Regions from separate parts of the Homo sapiens genome. Here all the other regions are linked to region 1. Evidence: promoter capture Hi-C in 16 types of primary human blood cells and fetal thymus (Javierre and others, 2016). All regions are on one chromosome and are shown on one strand. Each heading gives the region's core, a stretch centred on a gene start or on the middle of the fragment in contact. The rest is flanking DNA. Distances are from core to core; before and after follow the strand shown.

What was found. The method cuts DNA at HindIII sites, captures the fragments that hold promoters and counts their contacts. A CHiCAGO score of 5 or more calls a contact.
Region 2: a contact is called between a fragment that was not itself captured here and the fragment with the promoter of OTUD7B in region 1, in 1 of 17 cell types (M0 macrophages). The highest score is 5.4, in M0 macrophages.
Region 3: a fragment that was not itself captured here is called in contact with the fragment with the promoter of OTUD7B in region 1 in 2 of 17 cell types (M0 macrophages and M2 macrophages); the score reaches 5.5 in M0 macrophages.

What each region holds. Positions count from the first base shown.
Region 1 is chr1:150,009,078-150,012,132 of GRCh38, forward strand. It overlaps OTUD7B (OTU deubiquitinase 7B), which reads right to left and starts at 1,649. Exons shown (of 12, transcript NM_020205.4): 1 at 1,371-1,649. RefSeq lists enhancers at 394-1,276, 641-690 and silencers at 1,211-1,500, 1,761-1,810. The HindIII fragment of the contact is 17,924 bases long and covers 956-3,055 here.
Region 2 is chr1:149,957,119-149,960,173 of GRCh38, forward strand. It overlaps OTUD7B (OTU deubiquitinase 7B), which reads right to left. Exons shown (of 12, transcript NM_020205.4): 7 at 2,566-2,678. Among named protein-coding and RNA genes, the nearest start is that of MTMR11, 22 kb to the left of the region's middle. The HindIII fragment of the contact is 2,342 bases long and covers 278-2,619 here.
Region 3 is chr1:150,044,762-150,047,816 of GRCh38, forward strand. All of the region lies in intron 1 of LOC124904413 (a long non-coding RNA gene), which reads left to right. It also overlaps a transcript of OTUD7B not described here. Among named protein-coding and RNA genes, the nearest start is that of VPS45, 21 kb to the right of the region's middle. The HindIII fragment of the contact is 5,915 bases long and covers 1-3,055 here.

The sequences.
Region 1 (3,055 bases), core at 399-2,898:
AAACAATGAAGACAAAGCGTATAATTAATTCTTCATTGTTTGCGCATAATGTATTTGTAAGTTATACACAGCAAATATTTAACTACCTCTGATTCTCCCTAGCCACCCAGCTTCCGTCCCTGAAGTCTTCTCCCCATCAGGAATGCAATCTCATTTAGTAGGAAGAAAATTTTCTACATGTTTTCAGAAGTTACATAGCATAGAAACTTTTTTAAATATTTAGGGGTTAGCAACTCTTTGGAGCCAGTCTTACCGCCACCTCTTTCTCTACTCTGTCCTTTTCCACCTTTGAAATAGATTCTGAAAGACAAAGGGATCCAGCCTCCTCAAAAATCTCCTAAATATACAGTACTAGAGGCCAAAGACTGAAAAATTAGCAGCATGTGAATTTCTAAGCAAAGCGTTACGTAGTACGTATAAAAAGATAAGGAAAATAAAAGTCAACGTCCTGCTAATTCTAGGCTTTGCATTCGTGAAAAGCTGCCTGAAAAGTTTGTGGGGAACTTCTTCCATAAAATTCCACCAGTCAGTTTCTAATTTCAAATTTTTACATCTTTATTGTGCCCAGAGAAGCCACCTAGGTTAGACAAGAAAGACTACCACGAGCGGGGAGAAAGAGACTCTGAGCGCTGGTCCTTGTGAGCCGACAAGCTAAAAATACGCCGGCCCAGTAAACAAATCCCATTCCATCCCGACCGGAGCCACACCGTTAACCTAGTAATTATGAGAAGAGTGAGATCACGCAGCCCCCGGCTTACTCATCATCAGCTTCTAAAGTTTCCATCGGCTCATGGCAACTTTTCTTTTTTCTAAAGTTCTTAAGACTGCCCTAGAATCCGTCAACCTCCGTCTCTCTCCCTCTCTCACACACACACACAAACACACACACACACCTTTTTCTCGCCTTTCCTCCATTACTGTATGCACCTTAGTTTGGCTATCAATAGGAAGAATAAGCTTATTTGCTTTTCATTTTAGTATTATATTGAGATTTTAAATGAACTTTATCCTACTGTGGGGATAATACACTGCATCTTAATCACCTTAAAACTCCACCATCCCTCCCGAAAGTCTAGCTGACAAGGGGGGACCGTCCAAACTGGCCAGCACAGCTCAGGAAGGGAGGCCGGGAGCTGGAGAGCGCGGGGTAGGAACGCAGGACGCAGGTGAAAGGGAGGAGGAAAGATCGGGACGAAGCAAGGAGCAGTCAGGGCGAGAAAGGAGTGCCGAGGGGAGATGGCTTCGGGTGAAACAGATTCAGAAAGGAGAAAGGGGACAGTGGCGATCTGAGGAGCAGAGTTTGCGAGTCTGAGAAGCCGGGAGGGGCGGGAGCAGACGGGGGACGGTGTCAGGACGGGGGGCTCCGTTACCCTCGCGGGCTCCCGGGGCAAGGCCCTAGGCCGGGGCGGAGCGCGGGGCCCGGCCGCCTCTCTTCATTCCTCGGCAGTGACCCCGGGGTCCGGCCGGCCCCTCCCCCGACGGCGATGGAGGTGGAGGCGGTGGTGGAGACTGCGACCGCAGCTGTTGCTCCGCACGGGATCTGGAGCTGGAGCCAGAAAGGACTGATCGGGACTGGCCTCCCCCAGTGGCTTTTTGCCCACTCCGCACCCGGTCGCCACTCCGGCTCCGGCGGCTGGTTCAGGATCGGTGGCTTTCTGCTGTCCGGCCGGAAACAGGCGCCAGTTTCCGGCCGGAGCGGGTTGGTGGTGACACCCAGGCCGCCCCCGGGCCTCCTCCCGCTCCGCCCCGTCGCAGCCCCGCCTTTAGCGCCGCTCCCCAGGCTGCGGCCAGTTTGGCGCTTGCCCCGCGCGTGACCCCGTGTTTTCCCGACCCGAGTCCCTAAAGCTCCTGGTCTGGAGCATTCTTGAACAGGAGTTGGAGGAGTACAGGGTGGACTCTTAGGACTCTGGGGTAGAATCAGTTGGCTACAGCCGTTGGGAAGGAGCTGAAAGGGGTGGAGTAGTTGTAGAAAGGTGAGAGAGATGAAAATACTTCAGAATGAAAAGACTGACATTCTAGTAACTCTACACAATCATTCTGGAGTGACCGGAGGAAGATTAGCTTCTTCCACACCAGTCTCCACCCAATTATATATTTCTCTTGTTCCTTCACTCTTGAAGTGAACATATCCTTCTCTGTAAACACTTAATATTTATTTACTTGCATAACAGTGATACCCTGTTGATACATCTGCTTTAGACTGCTAACAGTAAAAAAAACTTACATAGTGCGTTTGTTATGTCTTCTAGTGCGTTTGTTATGTCTTTTAAAACATTATGGCATAATTCAAATATGTATTGTATCCCTGTGATGTGTATCACTGCTCTCAGTGATACAGGGGGATACAAAAATTAACAAGACATAATCCCAGACATCAAAGGTTTTACAATTTAGTAAAATACATAAAACTATATTATATGTAGCAGAACTTGTATGTGTCCTACCTGAGTGACAATGAGCTATGGCTATGAGAACATAATAAGCCATCCTTGTCACATAGTAGACCTTCCATATTTGTTGAATGAATGAATAAGTATTAGGCCTGTGTGGACTGTTTCAAGAAAGAAAGGCCATTTAGTAAATACCTCTTTATGACAAACACAAAACGATGCCAACCCCGGCTATACTCTAACAAAAGACATTTGAAATTTTAATTCAGATTCCTAACATTATAGCACCTGGTCTGCATATTCAAAATAATGTATTGCCTAATTGTGCCCATTATGCCTATGTAAAAACAAATACTCTAGTCAACTTTTCTTTCCCCTCACTTCTTCCTCAGTTTCTAAAGGGGAGGCGTGGGGCATAGGCATTTTAGAATTGTCTAGCTCAGAATAGGAAACTGACACCTGAAACAGGGAAACTTCCTAGACAGCTATATCTCTTAGGGATACACCTGGGTTTACAATCGAAAATTTAGGGCTGGGCCCAAGGCTGTCCACACATGCTAAGGCCAAACAAGTCAGAGTGCCTTGCATGGGGGCATATCCAAGACATACAATAGAGGTTGACAAGTAAAGTCATTTGGCGTGGGCTTCAAGCGTATAAGGGACCA
Region 2 (3,055 bases), core at 199-2,698, 52 kb before region 1:
ATTTTTAGAATTTTCAGCTTTTCTGCTCTGGTTTCTCCCCATCTTTGTGGTTTTATCTACCTTTGGTCTTTGATGATGGTGACATACAGATGGGGTATTGGTGTGGATGTCCTTTCTGTTAGTTTTCCTTCTAACAGTCAGGACCCTCAGCTGCAGGTCTGTTGGAGTTTGCTGGAGGTCCACTCCAGACCCTGTTTGCCTGGGTATCACCAGTGGAGGCTGCAGAACAGCAAATATTGCAGAACGGCAAATGTTGCTGCCTGATCCTTTCTCTGGAAGCTTCATCTCAGAGGGGCACCCGGCTGTATAAGATGTCAGTCAGCCCCTACTGGGAGGTGTCTCCCAATTAGGCTACTCGGGGGTCAGGGACCCACTTGAGGAGGCAGTCTGTCCGTTCTCAGATCTCAAACCGCGTGCTGGGAGAACCACTACTCTCTTCAAAGCTGTCAGACAGGGACGTTTAAGTCTGCAGAAGTTCCTGCTACCTTTTGTTCAGCTATGCCCTGCCGCCAGAGGTGGAGTCTACAGAGGCAGGCAGGCCTCCTTGAGCTGCAGTGGGCTCCACCCAGTTCGAGCTTCCCGGCCGCTTTGTTTACCTACTCAAGCCTCAGCAATGGCGGACGCCCCTCTCCCAGCCTCACTGCCTCCTTGCAGTTCTATCTCAGACTGCTGTGCTAGCAGTGAGCAAGCCTCCGCAGGCATGGGACCCTCCGAGCCAGGCACGGGATATAATCTCCTGGTGTGCCATTTGCTAAGACCGTTGGAAAAGGGCAGTATTAGGGTGGGAATGTCCCGATTTTCCAGGTACCGTCTGTCACGGCTTCCCTTGGCTAGGAAAGGGAATTCTCCAACTCCTTGTGCTTCCCAGGTGAGGCAATGCCCCGCCCTGCTTCGGCTCACGCTCCGTGGGCTATACCCACTGTCCAACAAGCCCTACTGAGATGAACCCGGTACCTCAGTTGGAAATGCAGAAATCATCCCTCTTCTGCGTCACTCATGCTGGGAGCTGTAGACTGGAGCTGTTCCTATTTGGCCATCTTCAACACTTGGTCAATCTTGTTTTACTACACCTCAGATCTATTTACCTACCTCCCCCATCACGGGGCTACCACCAGAGAATTTTGAAGCAAATCCTGGACATTATATAATTTCATCCATTTTTATTTTATTTCAGTTTCTATCTCTAAAAACATAAAGGACTACCTTTTTTTTTTTTTTTTTTTTTTTGAAATGGAGTCTCACTCTGTCGCCAGGGCTGGAGTGCAGTGGCACGAACTCGGCTGACTACAACCTCTGCTTCCTGGGTTCAAGCAATTCTCCTGCCTCAGCCTCTCGAGTAGCTGGGATTACAGCCGCCTAGCACCACGCCCAGCTAATTTTTTGTATTTTCAGTAGAGACAGGGTTTCACCACATTGGCCAGGCTGGTCTCGAATTCCCGCCCACCTCGGCCTCCCAAAGTTCTGGGATTACAGGCGTGAGCCACTGCGCCTGGCCAGGACTACCTTTTTAAACAACCACTATACCATTAATATCACATTTTATAATTTTAACAATAATCAAACACAGAGACATTGTTCACATTTCCTTAATTGTCTTATGATGTCCACACATCCCAACTGGTTGATGTCTTTTTTTTCTTTTAGAGACAGAGGTCTCTCTTTGTCACCCAGGCTGGAGTGCAGGGGTGCTGTCACAACTCACTGCAGCCTCGACCTCCCCAGCTCAGGCAATCCTCCCACCTCAGCCTCCCAAGTAGCTGGGACTATAGGCATGCACCACCATGCCTGGCTAATTTTTTTTTTTTAAGATGTGGTCTCACTGGCCAGGCATGGTGGCTCATGCTTGTAATCCCAGCACTTTGGGAGGCCAAGGTGGGTGGATCACTTGAGGCCAGGAGTTTGAGATCACCCTGGCCAAAATGGTGAAACCCCGTCTCTAATAAAAATACAAAAATTAGCTGGGCGTGGTGGCATGCATCTGTAGTCCCAGCTACTTGGGAGGCTGAAACAGAGAATCACTTGAACCCTGAAGGCAGAGGTTGCAGTGAGCAGAGATCACACCACTGCACTCCAGCCTGGGCAACAAAGTAAGACTCTGTCTCAAAAAAAAAAGAAAAAAAAGAAAGAAAAAGAAAGGGGGTCTCACTATGTTACCCAGGCTGGTTTCGAACTCCTGGGCTCACACGATCCTCCTGCCTCAGCCTTTCAAAGTGCTGAGATTACAGGTGTGAGACACCACACCCGGCCTGATATGTCTTTTTAGTCCATTTAAACCTACAAGTTCCTGGTCCCTTTTTATTTTCCTTGCAGTTTACTTACTGAAGATACTGGGTCATTTGTCCTGAAGTTTCCAAAGTCTAGATGGGCTACTTTATATTCCAGTTCAATACCGAACTACCTGTAGTTCCTAAACATATCATGTTGTTACACACTTTTGTGCCCTTAGCATAGTTCCCCTCTTTCCTTCTAATATCCTCTTAGCACAGAGCTCTCTAGACACTGGGCTGTGGAAGCCCAGTGAGGACTCTATGCAGGTTTCCTCCTCCCCTACTTAGCCATACTTACCCACCACAGTTGGCTCCATTGGTACCTAGATGCATTCGGGGTTCACTTGAGGCAAGCTTGATCAGTTCATTCCACTCCTTCTGCCATTCATCTTCTGTGTATACCAGCCCTGACTGTGTGAAGGACAGGCAGGGGACATTGGGCAATTAGAGGCTGGGTTCTAAGAGGCAATACCTATTCCACCTTATTCACTGTTACTTACTCCCTAATCCCTTAGCACTTGGTTTACAAATTGTACTACAAAGTCAAATCTCTTATCTCTTTTACAGTCAAGATCCATGAACTAATAGTCTATGACTATTAAACTTCTTTATCATCCATTCTTTTTGACCTACTGCAATCTGTCCCATTTCTGCCCTCCATCCTGCTCACCCACCTGCCACATAACATTTCACCTACCTGATTTTGGCAAAGAACAATGACCTTCTAATTGCCACATTCAGTGGACCCTGGTTCCCATCTTAGCCTTCACATGGGTTATTTTCCTCTT
Region 3 (3,055 bases), core at 204-2,703, 35 kb after region 1:
TAGTCTGTCTATAAAATAAACACATCTACTCCTTCCAACTTCATAAGGGTGAAAAATAAGAGTTTAAAATATGAAGCAGAAACAAGATGTATTAGTTACCTGTGAAAATAGCTCTCTGATTGTGTGCCTTTAAATTGGCAGGGGAAAAAAAGAAACTCAGTTTTAAAACAGAAAACTTATATATCACTATGTCTATATACTTGTTATAGCCAACGTCCCTAAACAGAAAATTGTTCAGTGGTGCAAGGGAATTAGTAATAATACCAATAATTATTAGATTCAGATTTCAAATCCCATATGAAAATAAACAATATTATTTGTTCTTAAACTAAATTTTTTTTTTTTTTTGAGATGGAATCTTGCTCTGTCACCCAGGCTAGAGTGCAGTGGCATGATCTCACCTCACTACAACCCCCGCCTTCCAGGTTCAAGCGATTGTCATGCCTCAGCCTCCCAAGTAGCTGAGATTACAGGTGTGTGCCACCGTGACCGGCTAATTTTTTTGTATTTTTAGTAGAAATAGGGTTTCACCATGTTGGCCACGCTGGTCTCGAACTCCTGACCTCTAGTGATCTGTCCAACTCAGCTTCCCAAAATGCTGAGATTACAGGTGTGAGCCACCGTGTCCAGCCAGAAAACCTTTGTGGAGGTGCTGGGGATTGACCCAGGGCCTCATGCATGCTAAGCGTGCGCCCTACCACTGATCTACACCCCCTTTAATTCTTAACATCAGAAATATTATTCAACAGACACATATCAGAGTTGAGGGAAATTATTGGAAAATTGAGACCAAAAAAAGCATACAGAAAGTTAATTTATTTTCTAGACAGAACTCTGCTAGTATTAGAATCAAATACTTTTAATTAGATAGTAATTTACTTGCTTTCTTGTAACTTATGGCCATCTTCTCTAGTCTGTTTGTTACAGTCCTACACATATTAAATAGCAAAAACAAACTAATTATATATTTTGCATGATCAGTATGTTACAACATTAAGATCAGACTAATAATACAAGTCACCTACTCCATTGCCAATTTTTATACTCCCTGCAATCTTACAGCACATCCTCATATGAACAAAAAGCCTTTATATTTATCTTACAGAGGATATAAACATCAATTTATAAAAAAGAGACACAAGCCTTATATAGTTAAAAGTAATATAATTAACATGATTACAAAAACATTTCTAATAAAGCAGAGGAAATAATTATATTGCTTGTAGTTCTAGTAAGAGTTTATTGAACCATTAAAAATAATTTCAAAACAATAAAATACAAAGGCAAATATCCAAATAGTTTTGTATGGATCTAGCATTCACTTTTCCTTGATCCAACCTAGTTTTAATTCCTATGGCCTACAGGATGGCTTAGATAAGGAAGAAGCTAAAAATTGGCTGTTACAGAGTTGCAGTTGTGTGGCATATGGGTGATCTACGTAACTGAAGTTGAAGGGAGAAATGCAATCTTCCCCCAAAACCTGCTTTTCCTTCAGTCCACTGTCACAATCCTGAGTCCAGCTACTCTCTCAACATCTCCATCTCCCTGGCTAAAACCTCCCATCTCTCATCTGGGTTGTTGTAAAGCCTCCTAACTAACCTCACTTCTTTTGCCTTTGCCTGCTATGATTAATTCCCAACCCAGTAGCCAGACTGATCCTCTCCTCAAAGCTCTCCAGTGGCATTTTTTTTTTTTTTTTTTTTTGAGACAGAGTCTTGCTCTGTCACCCAGGCTGGAGTACAGTGGGGCGATCTCGGCTCACTGCAACCTCCACCTCCCGGGTTCAAGTGATTCTCCTTCCTCAGCCTCCTGAGTTGCTGGGACTACAGGCGCATGCAACCACACCTGGCTAATTTTTTTTTTTTTTTTAGTAGAGACGGGGTTCCACCATGTTGGCCAGGATGGTCTCAATCTCCTAACCTCGTGATCCACCCGCCTCGTCCTCCCAAAGTGCTGGGATTATAGGCGTTAGCCACCACGTCTGGCCTCCAGTGGCATCCTTATTCAAAATAAAAGTAAATATCCTAGGGTGGGCATGGTGGCTCACGCCTGTAATCCCAGCACTTTGGGAGGCTGAGGCGGGCAGATCACTTGAGGTCAGGAGTCCAAGACCAGCCTGGCTAACATGGCGAAACCCCATCTCTACTAAAAATACAAAAATTAATTGGACATGGTGGCAGGTGCCTGTAATCCCAGCTACTGGGGAGGCTAAGGCAGGAGCATTGCTTGAACCCGGGAGGCGGAGATTGCAGTGAGCCAAGATCATGCCACTGCACTCTAGCCTGGGCGACAGAGCACAGCTCTGTCTTGGAAAAAAAACAAAGTCAATATCCTCACAACTAGGTCCTACACCAACTATTCCCCATTTTCCATCTTCCGCTGTCAATCACTCAGCTACCCTGGCTGCTTTGCTGTCTTATGAACAGCCCACTCCCACCTCAGGGATTTAGCAATTGCTCTTTCCTTTATCCAAAAAACTTTCATCTGGATTACATGTATCTTATTCCTTTAACATCCTTCAGGTTTTTGCTCAATGTTCATTTTTCAGCAAATGATTCCCTAACCACCACATTTATAACTGCAAACCTTATGCATCTCAACACTCCCCCCAACCTCCTTCTTTAAACTTGTTTTTGCTCTATAGAACTTACTACCACATGATTACTATATATTATGCTTATTTTGTGTACTGTCTGATTGTCCTCACTAGATTGTAAGAGAGATTAGGGATTTTTGTCTGTTTTTTTCAATCCCATATTTCCATGGCTAGCACCTAATAGGTATTCAACAAATGCTTGTTGAATATATGAACATCCTCTATAAATCCTCTAGTAACCAGTGTCAAGAACTACATGCCTATGTAGGTGACCCAAACACTTCCTCTAAGAACTGTATAGAAAAATAATTTCAGGCCAGGCGTGGTGGCTTATGCCTATAATCCCAGCACTTTGGGAAGCCGAGGCGGGTGGATCACGAGGTCAAGAGATCAAGACCATCCTGGCCAACATGGTGAAACCACATCTCTACTAAAAATACAAAAATTAGCTGGGCATGG